Regions from separate parts of the Homo sapiens genome. Here regions 2, 3 and 4 are each linked to region 1. The links are contacts of gene promoters, found by promoter capture Hi-C in blood cells and fetal thymus (Javierre and others, 2016). All regions are on one chromosome and are shown on one strand. Each heading gives the region's core, a stretch centred on a gene start or on the middle of the fragment in contact. The rest is flanking DNA. Distances are from core to core; before and after follow the strand shown.

What was found. The method cuts DNA at HindIII sites, captures the fragments that hold promoters and counts their contacts. A CHiCAGO score of 5 or more calls a contact.
Region 2: a contact is called between the fragment with the promoter of RCHY1 here and the fragment with the promoter of POLR2B in region 1, in 1 of 17 cell types (fetal thymus). The highest score is 13.5, in fetal thymus.
Region 3: a contact is called between the fragment with the promoter of ANKRD17 here and the fragment with the promoter of POLR2B in region 1, in 1 of 17 cell types (total B cells). The highest score is 6.2, in total B cells.
Region 4: the fragment with the promoter of YTHDC1 here is called in contact with the fragment with the promoter of POLR2B in region 1 in 1 of 17 cell types (fetal thymus); the score reaches 5.6 in fetal thymus.

What each region holds. Positions count from the first base shown.
Region 1 is chr4:56,976,904-56,981,628 of GRCh38, reverse strand. POLR2B (RNA polymerase II subunit B) reads right to left here and starts at 2,733. Exons shown (of 25, transcript NM_000938.3): 1 at 2,625-2,733. The coding sequence starts at 2,643. NOA1 (nitric oxide associated 1) reads left to right here and starts at 4,023. Exons shown (of 7, transcript NM_032313.4): 1 at 4,023-4,725. The coding sequence starts at 4,044. RefSeq lists enhancers at 2,360-2,459, 4,281-4,350 and a silencer at 4,451-4,530. The HindIII fragment of the contact is 1,293 bases long and covers 1,547-2,839 here.
Region 2 is chr4:75,512,451-75,517,175 of GRCh38, reverse strand. It overlaps RCHY1 (ring finger and CHY zinc finger domain containing 1), which reads left to right and starts at 2,773. Exons shown (of 9, transcript NM_015436.4): 1 at 2,773-2,979. The coding sequence starts at 2,890. It overlaps THAP6 (THAP domain containing 6), which reads right to left and starts at 2,703. Exons shown (of 5, transcript NM_144721.6): 1 at 2,656-2,703; 2 at 1,644-1,743; 3 at 197-404. The coding sequence starts at 1,723. RefSeq lists enhancers at 2,008-2,227, 1,803-2,733, 2,568-3,047, 2,734-3,664. The HindIII fragment of the contact is 8,040 bases long and covers 1-3,013 here.
Region 3 is chr4:73,256,089-73,260,813 of GRCh38, reverse strand. ANKRD17 (ankyrin repeat domain 17) reads left to right here and starts at 2,016. Exons shown (of 34, transcript NM_032217.5): 1 at 2,016-2,538. The coding sequence starts at 2,146. ANKRD17-DT (ANKRD17 divergent transcript) reads right to left here and starts at 1,648. Exons shown (of 5, transcript NR_187399.1): 1 at 1,406-1,648. RefSeq lists enhancers at 1,495-1,764, 1,367-1,963, 4,364-4,725 and a silencer at 1,925-2,324. The HindIII fragment of the contact is 8,436 bases long and covers 1-4,725 here.
Region 4 is chr4:68,348,172-68,352,896 of GRCh38, reverse strand. It overlaps YTHDC1 (YTH N6-methyladenosine RNA binding protein C1), which reads left to right and starts at 2,807. Exons shown (of 17, transcript NM_001031732.4): 1 at 2,807-3,171. The coding sequence starts at 3,144. RefSeq lists an enhancer at 2,859-3,438. The HindIII fragment of the contact is 7,711 bases long and covers 1-4,725 here.

The sequences.
Region 1 (4,725 bases), core at 1,484-3,983:
TTATCTAATAAACATTTCAGAGGACATGGGCAATAAAATGTAGGTTCACTGCTAAAGCAACCCTGATAAACTCTTTTTCCACAGGATCATTATACATTGCTAATAAGAATGCAAAATTAGTACAATCACCACTATGGTGGTCACTTGGCATCATCTAGCAAAATGTTAAACGTGCATATCATTTGACCTGACAATTTTATATGTAGAAATGTATCCCACAGACATACTTGGGCAAATTATACGTACAAGATTATTCATTTACAGCACTGTTTGAACCCGAAAATGACTAGAAATAAACCGAATATCCATCAAGAGACTACTTAAGTTATGGTACATCCACACAAACTAAGTAACTGGGGGTGGGGACACGGGAGGGGGGGCGCGATGCTTTCTGTGTACTGATACGAAAATCTCCTGGACACATTAAACAAAATCTAAAAGTGGAGAAAAGTGTGAATATTACTGTCTTTAAAAAAAGAGAAAATCCCATTTATATTTGCTTAAATATGCATAAGGAAACTGTGGAGGCTGGGCTTGGAGGTTCACACCTGCAATCCCAGCACTTTCGGAGGCCGAGGCAGGTGAATCACCTGAGGTCAGGAGTTTGAGATCAGCCTGGCCAACGTGGAGAAACCATCTCTACTAAAAATACTAAAATTAGCTGGGCACGGTGGTGTACGCCTGTAATCTCAGCTACTCGGGAGGCTGAGGCAGGAGAACTGCTTGAACCTGGGAGATGGAGGTTACAGTGAGCCGAGATTGCGCCACCACACTCAAGCCTGGGCAACAGAGCAAGACCATCAAAAAAAAAAAAAGAAACTGTGGAGTGATAAGAACCTCTTATAACTGTTATAACTGTAGTTACCCACTGTGGAGAGTTCAAACTGGGCAGATGGTGGGTAAGAAGGAGACGTGACACTTTAACTTGTTTTTTTTGAGACAAGGTCTCACTTTGTTCTCAGCTCATAGCAGTGTCAACTTCCCAGGCTCAAGCGATCCTCCAGCCTCAGCCCCACAAGTAGCTGGGACTATAGGTGAGCAAGACCACGCCCAGCTAATTTTTCTATTTCTTATAGAGAGGGGTCTCCCATGTTGCCCAGGCTGCTCTCGAACTCCTGAGCTCAAGTAATCCACCCGCCTCAGACTCCCAAAATGCTGGGATAACAGGCGTGAGCCACTGCACCAGCCACCCCACTTTAACATTTTTAAATTTTCTGGCTTGTGAGCTATGAGAATATATTACCCAGCCAAAAATTATGCTTTAAAAATCTTTTTTTTCGAATTTTTCTTCTACTGAGATAGTAGTTAAAAAAGAACAAGGAATATAATGATGCTAATAAATTTCTACAACACAAGATATAAATGAGACAGAAGTTTAAACAGCTTTAAAAGTTTAAGCTTTTGGCTGGGCACATTGGCTCATGCTTGTAATCCCAGCACTTTGGGAGGCCGAGACAGGCAGATGGTTTGACCTCAGGAGTTTGAGACCAGCCTGGGCAACATGGCCAGACCCCATCTCTTAAAAAAAAAAAAAAAAAATTAAGCTTTTGCTTCAATTTTTTCCATCTGATTTATCAGAAGTACCTGAGGGAATAGAGAGAGGAGATGTAGGGGGTGGCCAAGGAATTGAGAGCTATAAGAAAATAAGGTTTGAATTAGCAGATATGGAGAATGGAAAAGGCGGCTACGAAAATACACTAGACTCAACTAAGAATTTTTTTTTTTTTTTTTTGAGACAGTCTAACTCTGTCACTCAGGCTGTGGTGTAGTGGTGCGATCTCAGCTCACTGCAAACTCCGCCTCCTGGGCTCAAGCGATCGTCCGGCCTCAGCCTCCCGAGTAGCTGGGATTACAGGCGCACGCCATCACACTAGGCTAATTTTTGTATTTTTAGTAGATACAGGATTTCCCCATGTTTGTCAGGTTGGTCTCAAGCGATCTGCACATCTCGGCCTCCCAAAGTGCTGACGGGAGCCACCGCGCTCGGCCACTACTAAGAATTCCATATGCGCAAACAAACAGGTATTATACATTGGCCCAGTGCAGCAGAATACATATCATCTGAGAACTGTGACATTGTGAGAAGAGGAAGTTAAAAGTCATCCTTTAAGACAATTTACTTTGACTTACAAACAGTATGAAGAAATGTCAGACTAAACCGAGTCCCCCCCGCCACCCCCACCCCCCGATATTCTCTGTCCCGGAATATTTCCAGGACCTTCCACACTGCCTGACACAGGCTGACACTCAACAATTGAGCTATTCGTTAAGTCGACTGTGGCTTTAAGGAAAATTTTTAAAGGGTGCCCTTTGCTTCAAATTCAAAACGTAATTTATCTTACGATTCTGCACGCTACTTCACCACAGGAAACGAGGATCAGATCTAACGGAACGAGAAAGTGCAGAGAGCAGCAGTGAACGTAACCTGGAACATTAACACTATGTTCCCTGCACCCTCCGCCTCTCCCTACCCCAGTTTCGTTCCCGGCCTGGTAAGTGTGGGAACAAGGCTGGGGACTGTGCAGCCGGCGCATGGGAAGGCCCCAAATCCTCAATCCAATCAGTTCCCAACGCTTTCCTGCTTAAATGGACCGCCACGGCGTGTGTTTTGAGCGTTCACCTACCCTCATCCGCGTCGTACATATTGCCAAACGGTTCTCGAGCTCCTAACTCTTGAAATCAAAAGACAAAAACCGCCCAGAAGCCAGCAGCGCCAGGAGCTAAAGACGAAGTAACTTCCGTCTCCGACGTTCCCAGAATACCACGCGTCTCACACCAAAGGCCGCCCACAGGGACGCCAAAGTTAGGATCTGCGCCTGCGCAAATTGTAGGTCAAGCTTGGGCCGGGGTTAGGGTTGCACACGCGTAAATTGTGGGCCGCCGCTGCCGGGCTGATTGAGAGGACAGCTCCCGCAATCTGCGGTCGTATCCGTTCCGTCAATGTTTTATTTCTGCTTGTTTTTCAATGTTGTTGCACAAATAACGACACCTGAAAACAAAACCAGGTATACTTATTATTAAAAAGTGTTCGTCCTGTGAATCCGCAACATTGGGATGCTCAATTTATTTGCCTTTATAAGGACCAAAACACGAAGCTATTTTTTATTTTTATTTATTTATTATTTTTTGAAATGGAGTCTCGCTCTGTCGCCCAGGCTGGAGTGCAGTGGAGCGATCTCGGCTCACTGCAACCTCCGTCTCCCGGGTTCAAGCGATTCTCCTGCCTCGGCCTCCCAAATAGCTGGGATTACAGGCAAGGGTCACCACGCCCGGGTAATTTTTGTATTTTTAGTAGAGACGGGGTTTCACCACGTTGGCCAGGCTGGTCTCGAACTGCTGACCTCAGGTGATCCACCCGCCTCGGCCTCCCAAAGTGCTGGGATTACAGGCGTGAGCCACGCGCCCGGCCGGAAGCTCCTTTCTGTTTTTGTTTTGTTTTGTTTTTTTGAGACAGGCTCGCTCTGTCGCCCAGGCTGGAGTGCAGTGGCGCGATCTCGGCTCACTGCAACCTCCGCCTCCCGCGTTCAAGCCATTCTCCTGCCTCAGCCTCCCGAGTAGCTGGGACTACAGGCGCCCGCCACCACGCCTGGCTAATTTTTTGTATTTTTAGCAGAGATGGGGGTTTCACCGTGTAAGCCAGGATGGTCTCGATCTCCTGACCTCATGATCCGCCCGCCTCGGCCTCCCAAATTGCTGGGATTACAGGCGTGAGCCACCGCGCCCGACCCCGGAAGCTCCTTTTTAAGTGTGATTTATTAAGGGCGGCTTGTGCTAGCAGTGAGGCGTTAAGCCTGAAAGTGAAAAAACCCAAAACACTCACTGCTCTTTTCTGCCCACCTAGCTCAATCCTCCAGTGCCTTTGCCATAGCTTTAAGTAGGTTCTCAGTCTCAGAGCTTAAATCGCGAGAACTGACGGGATTAGACGCAAAACCAACCAGGACAGCTCCCAAGTACCCACGCGCTTTCGTCTCGGGTCAAATGCGCGCCTCGGACCCTAGTGCGCGTGCGCGCTGGTGGCTCCGCCCCTTTGGAGCTACTTCCTCATGCTGCCCGCTCGCCTACCGTTCAGGCTGCTGAGCCTTTTCCTTCGTGGATCCGCTCCCACGGCAGCGCGCCATGGCCTCCGGGAGCCGCTCCTGGAGAGGAGGTGCGCTGCCGCCTCCTCCTTCCAGCACTCATCGAGTCTGGGACGCGAGCTTCCTTATGACCCCGTGGACACGGAGGGCTTTGGAGAAGGTGGTGACATGCAGGAGCGTTTTCTGTTCCCGGAGTACATCCTGGATCCGGAGCCGCAACCCACCCGCGAAAAGCAGCTGCAGGAGCTCCAGCAACAGCAGGAGGAGGAGGAGCGACAGAGGCAGCAGCGGCGGGAGGAGCGGCGACAGCAAAACCTACGGGCCAGGTCCCGGGAGCACCCGGTCGTGGGGCACCCGGACCCGGCATTGCCGCCCAGCGGCGTGAACTGCTCGGGCTGTGGGGCAGAGCTGCACTGCCAGGACGCCGGAGTGCCCGGCTACCTGCCCCGAGAGAAGTTCCTCCGCACGGCGGAGGCAGACGGCGGGCTGGCACGGACCGTGTGCCAGCGCTGCTGGCTGCTGTCGCACCACCGGCGCGCTCTACGCCTGCAGGTGAGCCGCGAGCAGTACCTGGAGCTGGTGAGCGCCGCGTTGCGGCGGCCCGGCCCCTCCCTGGTGCTCTACATGGTGGACCTGCTGGACCTGCCCG
Region 2 (4,725 bases), core at 1,524-4,023, about 19 Mb before region 1:
TGTGGTGGCAGGTGCCTGTAATCCCAGCTTCTCGGGAGGCTGAGGCAGAGAATTGCTTAAACCCTGGAGGCAGAGATTGCAGTGAGCTGAGATCGCGCCACTGCACTCCAGCCTTGGTGACAGAGCGAGACTCTATCTCAAAAAAAAAAAAAAAAAAAAGTGAGCAATGATGGTAAACAGTATCTCATAAACAAACCTGTAGGTGATATGGAGAATCAAAGATAGAAGGTATGACTCCAGGTTTCAGTTTAATATTTGGAGCACTTCTGTCAAAATCTGTCTTCTTAAAGTGCCTCGAACACAACACATCTCCTTTTTTAGGCTCCCAAATGCCGGCTGCATTCACATCAAGTCTTTTCATTGCTAATACCCATTTCCTTTTGATGTTTTCATCTGTGGGGAATCTAGAAAAAAAATACAAAAAATATTTTAAAATCAAATACTATTGCTATATAATTGAATTAAAGCTGCCTTATACAACTGTGACTAAATTGATTCGTTAACTAGTTTATTAGTCTTGAGAATTATAATATTTAGGAAACCATAATTCATGCTTTTGTTACTTTCCGTTTTAATATTCAGATTTTCTGCCAATCATGCTGCAGATATATGGCCCTCATTTCATTTTTTCTCACATTATAAGGAAGAAAAGTTTCAATGGATATTTAGCATCTTATAGTAAGATCCACAATTGAAGGTATTTATTCATCTATAGATGATAAAAGAATTATCACTTGGGCCTTTTCCTATCTGAAATGATATCCAGAATTTATCCTCGATAAAAAGGGCCCCTTGTAATTCCATTCTTCTGTCAGCACCAGAAAATTGCTTAGTACAGCATTTAATACATAGCAGGTCTACAGATGCTTAGTGAATGAATGCAGAGAATAGCTGCAGTGTGGAGTTCTGGAGATCAGAGCTATTTTGAGAGATATGAAGGCCTAATAGCCATATCTTACTCAATTTTCAAGCTGGTTCAAATTTTTCTAAAATAAGGTAGGATATATATGCTCAGTTTTGATTTATTATATCTAACAAAATAGCTAGGAGATCTTTCTCTAACACATAGGACAGTGCCTGGCACAAAAGCAGCAAAATAAACCTTTAACAAGTGAACAACTATTAAATCTTATTACTCCTTCACTTACTCCTTCATGGCTGTCAAGAGAATGGCTAAAATATGAAACTAAAATCATTTTGATTTATTTGCAACACAGCTAAAGATCCCTTGGTCTTAACTTGTAATTTGTATTTTTTCTCTATAACCTATGCTTGATCTACTTCTAAATAGAGAGGGCAATATATTCGAGCAAAGCTCCTTCATTCAGATTGTAAACTACATGTAAACAACATTGAATTTCTTTGGCGGTGTGATAAAATACAAAGTAATAATATTAGCAAAAGTTAGCCTTATGGTATTTTTTGTAAACCAGTCTCTGATATCTTAAAGTCTCTGATATCTTAAAACTTTTAAACTAAATTATAAACATGTAAAGGTATCACATTGTCACTTCAAATTTAACAAAAAGGTTATTTAAAAAGGACTCGGGAACTAAAGTTCAAAATTGAAGACTTAAGTAGAACTGTCTTTTGCTTTTTATAACATGGCCAAAGTATTTGGCTTAACTACAGCAAAATCTTACACGTGAAATGTCAGTCCTTTTAACTTCGAATTTGGCAAGCAGCGAGAAGCACATCCAATGGCGGAGCAGCATTTCACCATTTTAGCAACTCATAACAAAACTGAAAGAAAATTAGAATGTTAAGAGTTAGTAACCGGAAAGCTGAAGGGGAATATTTTCCCTTTCCCGGTGTTTTAGGAAACACAAAATCAGGATAGAAAGCTAAAGACAAATATCTTCTTCTAACACCTGCAGCTTTGCTTACATCATTTTCCAGGGCCTTGACTCTTTAATAAGGAGAAACATATTTAGCTGTGTACCCCGAGTATGATTTCAATTTTGTTGGCTTGTACATTTTCCTTCCACCTTCTAACAGGTACCATGTTCTTTGTGCCACAAAGCCTTTTGCACACTAACTCCTACCCATCTTTCAGCCCTCGGCTTGCATCGCTTCCCCAGGGAAGCCTTCCCTCACTGACACTCAGATTGTCAGAGCTGCTCTAATATTAGCTCTCACAGGACACACACTTCTTCCTAGCACTTCTCCAGGTTGTAATCTTACATTTATTGCAGTGATTGCTCTTATTAATGTCTTCCTCCTCCACCAGTCTTGTTAGTTCCATGAGGTCATGGTGGAGTGTGTCTATTTTTCCTTACTTTTTGTCCTCACGGTTTAGCTGGTGACTGGCAATAGTGAATGTCAGTACATATTTTGAAAGAACAGCAAGTAAACGGGAAAGGGAGGAAGCAAGAAGCACTTCGAGGTGCCAGCGAGCACCCTGGCGTCCAAGAGCAGCGCGCGGGACCCGCTGAGCCCAGGGCCCGGGCCGAGCTCCGCCCCTTTCTCCAGGCTCCCCGCCACCGGAGGGAGAGAGGGAGGACCCGTCACAGGTAACGATGCGCCCAGTGAGCGTCCTTTCCTCTGGGGCCAACCAGCGTCTCCGCGCCGCTGCCGCCAACCTCGCGCCGAACTACGCCCTGAGATTTGGGCGGGTAGCGATTGGGGGAAAACAGGCAACCTAAGAGTTATTACCGTTAGCAGCGAAGACTGCGACTAACGTCAACGACGGAGACTGCGTCTGCCTTCGCTTCCGCCTCGTAGCCCCGGGAACCGGAAATCCGTCTGCCCCGGGTCACGTGCTTAGGAGCCATATTGTCGCTAGTGGCCGCTGGGGCTGGGAGGGGTGTGCTAGAGAGGCGCAGCTTCTCTGGGCGTGGTTTTTATCCTGGGGGAAGGATCGGTGGAATGTGAGGGGAGGTGGAGGAGATGGCGGCGACGGCCCGGGAAGATGGCGCCAGCGGTCAAGAGCGAGGTCAGCGGGGCTGCGAGCACTATGACAGAGGATGTCTCCTAAAGGTGACGCCTTCTATGGACTCTTCCCTGACAAGCTTCCGTCAGGTTGGGCTGGGGCGGGCTGGGCAGGTGGTTAGGCTTGGATTTAAGTTTGAGGTTAACCTGATTTTCAGGATACCTTTTCCACCTGGAACTGGGTTCTTCTTGAGGAGAACGTTTTTGGCAAGGCGATAAGCCCCACCTTTCCTACCTGCTTCGTACCTTTAAAGCAAAACCCTTCTTGGGAAGTGATTAGGCTTGCACAGTGGTCTCTGCCAGTGGGCTTATTCGTCTTTTGCTGCCGAAGTAGACTGAGGCAGCCCCGGGCCTGTACTGGGGTTTTCCGTTCAGGTGTGTGATGAAATAATGGAAGTGGAGATAATGGAAATAAGCAAGTGGAGAACCCGAATACGATTTCAGCTCCTGTGGTAAAGTTTTATAGCCTGCCAGCTTCATGTTAAAGGCAGTGCACATGTTCAGACGTAGGAGAAAACGTGTGTCCCAAAAAAGAAGACAATCATGTAATTGCCATTAAATAGGAAATTATGCATAGGAAAGTGCCTAATAAGCATGTATTGTTACTCTGAGAAAACTTCTTAATCTGTATTTTTTTTTAAATTGGCACGTATTCAATTGAAGTTTCCTGATTTTCCTTGCAAGAAACAGTACAAAAATTTTGCTTAGAAAACTTGAGCTTTGGAACCTCAACCGCCCTATCCCCAAATCTTAGCTCTCCTCTTTAATAACTGATTTTAGCTAGCTCCTCTCTACCCCGTATGTAAAATGGAGATGATCGCGCCTGTTTCATAAAAGTGTATGAGGATTATATACTAAAGGGCGTGTATAGTGTTTAACAGGGCGCATTCCCTGAAGTAAATGAGTAGTAAATATATACCACCATGACTGTTACTATCATCGTCAATCTGAGTATTATTATTTTTTGTTCTTTCACTTCACAAGTCAGCCTTGCTGGTCACTGCCTCATTATTAGAAGCAAGTTCAAGTCTCAGGCCTGTACGTGCATCCTAAACTCTTTTCTATAGGTCATGGCTTGACGAACATTGCTCCACTGAACTGGATGAAGCTCCTTAAAAATGTTGGTCATCCACCAAGTGTTGTGTAAGGAAATTGAATGCTATCCTTATGATTCAATTTCTACTGAGATGTATTATTATTCTTTCAAACTTGAGGTCTAAAACGGAATTTAACATCTTGGTGCCCCCCATAAACCACACAATTAGATCTGTGTATCATAGCACTAAGATACTTCGCCCTAGGTGTCAAACAGTTTTTGCCTTCCCCCGCCCCCCCCCCCCCCTTAAATACCAGAGGCCAAGTGAAGTATTTCAAGGAGGATGTGGTCAGCTGGGTCAAATGCAGCTGTTTGAGTAAGATAACTGAGAATTGCCCTTTGGATTTGGCAAGGAAGAGGTCACTGGTGATCTTGACAAGAGGAGTTTTAGTGGAGAGATCAGGATTAGAGTGAATTTAGGAAAGAATGGGAGGAGTGGAATTGAAAATAGCACTTATAGGGTATTCTTGGGGTTTAGCTGTAAAGGGGAGCAAAAAAAAGATGTGGTTGCTGGGAGATCTGGCACCATATTTTTTCCTCTTTAAGAGAGGAAGTATTACAGCATGTTTGTATATTCTAGGAAATGATACAATAGAGTGAGAACGTTTTATAATGCAGGAGAGAGTGAGAAAACTGTAAGGGCATTGTCCCTGAGTAGCCAAAGGGGATGAAATCCAGTGCACAAGTGAAGGAGTTGG
Region 3 (4,725 bases), core at 767-3,266, about 16 Mb before region 1:
GCCCAAGCTAGAGTGCAGTAGCAGGATCTCAGCTCACTGCAAACTCCGCCTCGCAGGTTCAAGCGATTCTCCTGCTTCAGCCTCCTGAGTATAGAATACTTTTTAAAGAAAGAAAGTTTGCTTGTGAAGGAAATAATTGAAAGCTACAGAAGAATTAGCTAAGGAACCAGAATTTGTAGAAGGTTGACAACAGAAAAGATAATAAATGCATGAGAAAGAGGGGTATTGGAACTAGAATATGTATGAAGAGTTTATCTCATATATGAACAGGGAGTCTCTCATTCGTTGATACTGGAGAAAAGGCAATCTCAGGAAATTTCTAGCACTTGGAAAATTGTGAAGTCTAAGTTAAAAGTCATATAATAAAATGGGCTGGGATTTAAAGATTGCGAAAAGTATTCAAGTGGAAAGGGAGAAAAAGATGCTGAAGAATATACAAAGTAGGAGGGAGGGATGCAGCTGAAATTATAAAATCTAAATCAGTAGTGGTGAGATACACAATGCAGTGCTCTGTTCTACACTGGAACTCAGCAACGACTGTAGGAGAGGAATAGGCAGATGGTTACCACTCCGTATATATATTTACTATAGCACTTATTACACTGTAAAGCCCCTGGAAACAAGAGACTTTGATTCCACAAATTATGCGCACAGTAGGCACATGATGAATTTTTGTTTGAATGAATTGATTTAGTCATTGCCAATTCTGCCTTGGTACTCTGTAGAGTACTGGCAACTGCCCACATTTCATATGGTATGCCAATGCTAAAAAGAAAAAAAATGCTAAAAAAAAAAAAAATCCAGGCATATTCAGCTAAACTAAGCAGTCTTAAAATGGCAACTATGTCAGCTGAGACATACTTTTAATCTTGTGCCAGTACATCTGTCTTTGATGTTTGCTTCATTTTCCGTATGCCACTATACTCCTACTAGACCAGAAAGGGATAATTCTGAGTTCAATGGGCTCCACTATCATTTCAAAAGTCCTGAAACTTCTTCAGACACCTAAAAATGAACCCACAACTCCCATAACAGCATTCCTTCCGAGAGAAGTATACAGACAACAATCACTATTTATGCTTGCTTCCAAGCTGAATCGAAGAGGGCCGGAAGAGCTAAATCAGGGTCATTCAGTGAATCGTCTACAAAGTCTGGCACAGACCACGCATCCTTCCCGTGTCTTCCTCCCCTTGGAAACTTGAGGTGTAAGTAATGATCTTAGACATCTCCTAATCGACTGCCTTCATATTACACACGTGTAAACTCAGGTAGAGGATGTCTATGAGCCGAGCTTAAACTCAGGTAAAGAAGGCTCTTTTCCCAACACGACGCCATCTCTCATGATCCAAAGCTCTATCTCTCGATTTGGCGGTGGAAAAAAATGACCAGGAATAAAACTACGTACAGCAGTCCAGAACGAGGCCCCACCTCCCGGATCTGGCGGACCGGCCTCCCGTCAGCAAAGTGTCTGGACCGCGCTTCCGCACCTCACACTGCCCGGGGCCGGCTCCTCTCCAGCCTCCCCGTACTCCCCACACGCCGCAGCACTGCGCGCCCGCGGGGCCCCAGACCCGGCCCTTGAAATCTCACTTTCGCCTTTCGGCCACCCGCGCGCCACGGCTCAGGCGACGGCTGATGGCGTCACTGCACTTCCGCCTGCGGCTGCGTTCTAATCACAAGCCAGGAAGGAAGAAGGGAGGGCTGCAGGGCTGTGTGTGCGGGAAATAGCGAGGAAAGAGAAGAAATCCGGGAGCTCGCGGGCGCTCTGGTTGCAATCGCGCCCCCCTCATCTGTCCCCGCCGTTCCCCTTCGGAAGCTGCCCCAGGCACACTTCCCCGCTTCTTTCCAGTCTCCTCTCCTCTGGTTCTCCCGACACCCGGTCTCCCTGTTACGCCTCACCCTCCTTCCCTTGCTCCCTCCCTCTCCCTCCCTCCCTCCCTCCCATCGTCAGGCTCCCCGCCCTTAGTATCGCGAGACGAGGTGAGAGCTGGCGGAGCGGCGGCGGCGGCGGCGGCAGTAGAGGTGACCGAGGCGGTGGCGGCGGAGGCGGCACCGATTGCTGTGTCGGCCCCAGTGCGGCCGAAGTCGCGGTAGAGCGTAGCCCCACGCCCCTCCCCCGTCCGCGCCCTCCCTCTTTCCCTGGGGATGGAGAAGGCGACGGTTCCGGTGGCGGCGGCGACGGCTGCAGAAGGAGAAGGGAGCCCCCCGGCGGTGGCGGCTGTGGCGGGCCCCCCCGCGGCGGCGGAGGTCGGCGGCGGCGTTGGCGGCAGCAGCAGAGCTCGCTCGGCCTCGTCTCCTCGTGGGATGGTGCGAGTCTGCGACCTGCTCCTGAAGAAGAAGCCGCCGCAGCAGCAGCACCACAAGGCCAAGCGTAACCGGACTTGCCGACCCCCCAGCAGCAGCGAAAGCAGCAGCGACAGCGACAACAGCGGCGGCGGTGGAGGCGGCGGTGGAGGCGGAGGTGGCGGCGGCGGCACCAGCAGTAACAACAGCGAGGAAGAAGAGGACGACGACGACGAGGAAGAGGAGGTTTCTGAGGCAAGGGCCTGGTTTCAAAGGAAGGAGGGAGGAAGGGACTGTAAGGGATAGGGGCCGAAGGTGGGAGGGGATTTGGAGTGGGACAGATTCCAGTGGGTTGATCTCTTAGGGGCCAGGCTTTCGACTGCCCCCTTTCTTCCCTCGGCCTAAATCGTGAGGTGTGGGAATGTGGGGGAGGGTAGCTGACACGTGGGGGTGGGAGGACCACGGAGTTCACAGAGTTGGTGAACAGCCTGTTATCATGGGATGGCTCACTTGGTTAAGGATGGAGGGAATTGGTTAGATTCCCTGTTTGCACGCCGGGGGGTGGGGGGGTGGTCTGCCTGGGGCCAGTAGGGCCACCTTAGTCTGAGGCGGGATCGGGATCAAAGCGGGAGGAGTAAAATAATGGGTAAATGAGTCTCTTGGGGACCAACTAGGAGGTTGATCAACTTCTCCCAGTTGTGAGGTGGAGGGGAGCAGTTTGAGGGGGGACGTAAGGTTGTAATGGACTCAGAGCTAAGTGTTTGTGTATGTGAGGGACACGTGAGAAGCTGTACTTTTCCATACTGTTCTGCAGGGTTTTTCGTAACTATCCTGGCTGCTGAAGTAACTTCATTTCCTCGATCTCCCAGGGATTTTCGATGAACTGATGCTGTATTTGTATAAATTTATCAGTAACTTTAAATAATTACAAATGACCATATACATTTGTAAGTGGATGAAAAATATATTTGATCCTTACACGTACATACATACATGCCTTCGAATGTTTCCTTAGTGAGTTAGAATTAAGCTAGGACCTGTTGTCCCGTAATATGGGACAGCCAAAGGGTAGGCTTTGGAGCCAGGCCTGGTTGTGGTGAGTTGGAATAGGAAGGCCTCTCGGTTTGTCCTAGTGATCTGGTTTCATAATAACTTTATAATTTTTCCTGGGTCCACAGACAGGCGGCGTTGCAGGACCTTATTCCTCACAGAAGCCCTTACAACCCAAAGGCTCAGTAAAACATACCATACTGACAACCAACTGAGAGTTAGCTTTACTAGTTATTAGCTGTTTTACCACTCTCTTGTCTCCTTCCTGAAATAGAATCTAGAAAAATCTTTATTTGGAGAGGGAAATCTTTATCAGCAGAGGGAAAACAGCTTTAAAGGCTGATTTTAAACTTAGTTCTAAGAGGAGACCAAGTGATTCATCTAAAAGTACCACTTACTATTTATTCTCTTCCACAAACATGGAACTTATTTTGATGCAAGTCTGGTTTTCCGAAAATTGGAATTATTGAATCCTGGTCTCTGTTGAAATAGAGAAGTACCTTTTAAAGGATTTGACACATGTCTATTTGTAGAAGACCAGATTCTCTTTTATCTCAGACTGGATGAAGTTGTATAGGTAGAGATATTAAGTGCTGAAGTATGTATGACAAAAATATGCCAGTCCTTGTTTTTATTCCCTTTTAGCCTGTTGGATTCTGAGAATAGGTTTGTATTGATAGACTTATATTGGCCTACTTGGATGTTTAGGATAGTGTGTTGCTCTGGCGGCATTTGAAACAAGGAAGAGAAAGATGTAATGGGGTCCTTATCCCTAATAAAATTTGTTATGGTACTTAGAATCATTCAATTGTATGATTCTTCTCAAAGGTGAGAAACATTTTACAGGTAATTCAGCCCTTTATTTTAAAAAGGAGGAAAACAAGGTTTAGAGGAAAGTGGTTGTGGTGGGTAGTAGCAAAAGTACAAATCAAAGTTTTCTAATGTCTCAGACCTGTACACTTTTTAATAATAATTTATTTCCTTTTATCACCCTCCTGATATCATTCAGAAAAATAGTTACTGAATAGCAAGGTAACACAATCATGCAGCTATAGGCAAAATACCATTACTTAAAATTTTAAATTCTCGTGAAACTATTAAGCTCTGGTTTAGAGCAAGGTTATGATAGTTGAATGCAGTACTTACTGGGATATTCTGCTGCAAACTTAACATACCTAGGTAGTTTTGTCCATTGGAATGCGGCCTAATAAGCAGAACTTTTAGTAATTCCTTAAATCATGAAGAATGGCTGTAAGTTTGTAGGTATGTTTATTTTGTGGGTCAGGTTTGTTTTCCTTTTGTAATATAGGAATGGTTATGTTGACTTTCACCAACTATGGTAGTATTTCTATGTTTTTAACATACCTTATCCTGTCTTTTACATGGTGTTAA
Region 4 (4,725 bases), core at 1,558-4,057, about 11 Mb before region 1:
ATTTACTAACATGACTGAATTAAAAACCGCATTTTTTTACAGCTGTGCTCTTAGTTTAACATAAACTTACTTCATTTTATTTTTTGAGACAGGGTCCAGCTCTGTTGCCCAGGCTGGAGTGCAGAGGCGTAATCATGTCTCACTGCAGCCTTGACCTCGCCGGCTCAAGCAATCCTCCCACTTTGGCCCCCAGAGAAGTTGGGACTACAGGTGTGCACCACCATGACCAGCTATTTTTTATTTTATTTTCTGCAGAGATGTGGTTTCGCCAGGTTGCCCAAGCTGGTCTTAAAACTCCTGAGCCCAAGTGATCCACCTGCCTTGGCCTCCCAAAGGGCTGGAATTACAGGCATGTGCCACTGCAGCTGGCCCCATAAACTTATTTTAATAACAAAGATGCAAATATGGAATTCTATTTACATTAAAAATTACTCCTTAGTTCTAATAGGACAAATGTAGAATCAGGGAAAATGGCATTTTGATATCTTCTAAATTACTTGGCTGTTTTCTTATGCTCTTCTTTACAAAAAATTATTAAAGGAAACTCAAATATGCAAAAAAGTAGAGAAGAGAGTATAATATTAACTAATGTATGTGGAAATCAAAAGGTATCTGAGGCAGGTCTCAATCAATTTAGAAAGTTTATTTTGCCAAGGTTAAGAAAGAGCCCATGACAGCCTCAAGCTGTCCTGATGACATGTGCCCAAGGTGGTCGTGCACAGCTTCATTTTATACATTTTAGGGATACATGAGACATCAATCACCAGCTTGACTTCTTCCTTTGGCTTAGTGATGTTGGGGAGATTTTCCTTTCACATATGTATCGCCCAGCTTCAACAATTGTTAACTCATGGGTAGACTTGTTTAATCTATTCTCCTACCCATTTCGCTACACCTGCCACCAGTTTGATAAATCCCAGATACCATATAATTTCATTTGCAAATATTTATTACTATTCTTATTATTATTTTGAGACAGAGTCTAGCTCTGTTGTCCTGGTTGGGGTGAAAGTGGCACAATCTCAGCTCACTGCAACCTCCGCCTCCCGGGTTCAAGCAATTCTGCCTTAGCCTCCCGAGTAGCTGGGACTACAGGCGCATGCCATCATGCCTGGCTAATTTTTGTATTTTTAGCAGAGACGGGGTTTCACCATATTGGTCAGGCTGGTCTCAAACTCCTGACCACAGGTGATCCGCCCGCCTGGGCCTCCCGAAGTGCTGGGATTACAGGTATGAGCCACTGCATCTGGCCTGCAAATATTTTCATATGAATCATGAAATTATAAGAAATTCTTTAAAAAGCAAAACTTATTAAAACTAAAAATACAAATAGCAATTCCTCAGGATCATCAGATATTATTTAATGTGTGTGTGTGTGTGTGTTTGTGGCGTGTGCGTGTTCGTATATTCAAATTAGTGTTCAATTAAGGTCCTAGAAATGGGGCCACTCCTGGTGGCTTCACACCTGTAATCCCGCACTTTGGGAGGCCGAGGTGGGAGGATTGCTGGAGCCCAGGATTTAGACACTAGCCTGGGCAAGATGGCTAGGTGTTAGCCATCTTGCGGAGATGGTATATCTCCACAAAAAATGCAAAAAATGTGTCGGATGTGGTGGAGCATGCCTGTAGTTCCAGCTACCTGGGAGGTTAAGGTGGGAGGATCACTTGAGCCCAAGGTTGCAGTGAGCCATGATCACACCACTGCACTCCAGCCTGTGTCACAGTGAGACCACGTCTCAAAAAAAAAGAGGTACCACATTCTAGACTTCTAGACTACTTGTCTTTCCCTGAATATGCAGTTAGTTTGCCAGTTTGTCTTCATATCACGAAGTTACTTAGTTACCTTTTTCAGATTTTTCTTTCCCTTATAACTCAGTTATAGTTCAAGGAAGCAAAATTAGATTGTTTCCGTTGGACAATGAATCTTAAGCAAGTTTCTCTTGCAGATTTTACCACACTATGTAGTTATGTATCTACTGGTCATTTATTCTGTAGTTTCGATTCCTCGATGGTCTGCTTAAATCAATTTTGTGCCCCAGGGCCTTGATAACATGTTTAAATTAGTTATTAATTACAAAGACCTATTATGATACAATTCTTTCCCCAATTAAAAACAAAACTAGGCCGGGCGTGGTAGCTCACGCCTGTAATCCCAGCACTTCATCCTGGCCAACATGGTGAAATCCCGTCTCTACTAAAAATAAAAAAATTAACTGGGCGTGGTGGCGGGCGCCTGTAGTCCCAGCTACTCAGGAGGCAGAGCCAGGAGAATCGCTTGAACCTGGGAGGCGGAGGTTGCGGTGAGCCGAGATCGCGCTGCTGCACTCCAACCTAGCGACAGAGCGAGACTCCGTCTCAAAACAAACAAAAACTAGCAGGCTTTTGTGACTACAAACAAGCTGGTTGCATGCTGCACTGCCTTTGGGTAAGAGTGGAACTCCAACTAAGAAAGTACATCTGGTAAACATAAGGGATTCACCCAGACTTGTCCTAAATAAGACTCCGATTACCCGAACTGAATCAGGAGTCCTTTAGAGCGACTCTAGCTAAGAAGGCCTGTTAGGCCCTGCACTAAGAGTTTCAGGTGGGAAAATTGCGCCATCCAGTTATAGGCCGTACAGCGGGAACTCCATGAACAACCTGGGTAACCTAATCCCTGAATAAGACTCCTTCCAGGTACCAGTGGGCTGAGGGCGGCAGGGCGACGCGCTGACGTCACGTCACGTTCCTTTGCACGTCCCCGCCTCCCCGCCCCTCTCCGCACTGTGACGTTCCCAGAGAGGAACGAAGCGTAAACAGCGCAGGGCATTTCGGGAGCGGGATTGTTTCGCGCAGGAAGCAGGCTCCATTTTAGCGCCGCCCGCCGTCGCCATCTGTTTCCCTTCCCTCCCCCATACCTAGCCCGAGTCTGAGCCCTAACGAGAAGGCTGGGCCTAGGCCGCTGGATGCTGGAGTGAAAGGAAGGGAGAAAGGGAAAAAGCGGGAAGAGTCGAGAAGGCTGAGTGTTAAGAGGCCAAGTGCGACGCGCGTATCCGGGCAGACGGACTGACGGACGGGCCCGTGCTTCTGCCGCGGCTGCGGCGCCCGCGCGAGTCGCGTCTAAGCGGCGGCGGCGGTGGCAGCGGCGGAAACCGAAGGGGAGCCATGGCGGCTGACAGTCGGGAGGAGAAAGGTTAGTGCGGAGAAAGATGACGGGCCGAGGCGAGGCTGGGGCCCGGGAGTGGGGTGATGGAGCAGTGGTCGTCGTTGGGGGTGGGGGGTGGGGGTTGGGGAGGTTAGCTGGCCTCGCGAGGAGCCGGTGGCCCCCACCGAGACACTTAGACTCTGGCGGAGACCAGGCCTGCCCTTTCGTCCTCAGTCTCCATATGGCCTAGCACTTCATCTCAGTAGGGTTTTTCTTTGATGCGGATTTCACGCTTGACTTTCCGTTTAGCTGTCTTGGGCTGAGAGGGGCCCTTTCTGAGTTGCAAGCTCCTAGGTTTATTTCCTGGTAGGATCATGCGGATGTAACGCGTATTTTCAGGACAACCATTTCTGTTAGGCTAAAATTTGAAAACCCCTAATGCCGCGATCAACACTGGTGGTGTGGTAAGTGAGCAAGTTTAGGAAGTGGCACTGGCAGGTTATTAATCTTGAGAAATATCTGCAAATAACTTCTGGCTGTTCCTGTTAAATAGGCAAAGTGAATTACCCGTTTTGTTCCTCGAATACTTATTTTGGAAAAACATAGTACTTGGAAAAAGGAATACTTAGTTTGGAAAGATGACTGTGTGACTTAGGCTGGCAAAGAAATCCTGGGTGCTATTATGTTAGAAAAACCGTGTGTAGCTCCCAGAGGGTACAGTCAGAAACAAATGAATGCAAGTTACAGAGAGTTGGAGGGATAAATTTCAGTGAAATGTAGAGAGAACTGACGTTGCTGTAATGGAAAGATAGTAATACTAAGTTCCCAAGCCCTAGAGATATTAATGTAGGTCCTAGATCAGTGTCTCTCTGGAGAGTGGTCTAGATTAAATGCTGCTTTAAGATCTTTTTCAACCCTAAGATTAACATAATAGTCTTGGAAAGATTATAGTTAAAAATATGACACGGTCGCTGCTCTGTGTCTCACACATCTCTTCTGTGTGCCTAATTGATTTGGGGTTTTTTTGTCGGGGGTTGTTAAGTGGGCTCTAGAGTCAAGTTACATTAGGCGTGTAATCCTTTTTTCTTAATTTTTCTGGTTTCTGCATCAGGAGAGTCTTCATGCTTCAATGAACTGCCCTAGGTTAGGGACAAGCTGGGAAAGTGGAATGGGTGGGAATACTTTTAAGATACTGCCCTTATCCTAAAGTAGTTCTTTGATTAGGTTATAGCAGTTTAATGTTCCATCCTTAAACTAAATGCTAAAAAATCTCCCTGGGCCTTTTTTTTTTTTTTTTTTGAGAAATCCAGAAGTAATGGGAACATAGGATTGTATGGTGTTAGTGAGTAAAGGAAAATGCTTTTAATTAGTTAACTCAGTTATTAAAATACATGATCTTAATTAGTAAGTATTCAGCAAACATCTGATTGTCTTTCTAATTTATGAACTGTGGATATGGGAGTCTGTAGTGGTTGTGGTGGGCGAAATGAACCAAACACAAAAATGAGTAAAATTCAGTACTTCTCAAGAATTCGTTGTCTAAGATGAAAATATTTACAAGTCGTTAATAGAGTAGACGCAGTAATGCACATTGAAGAAGAA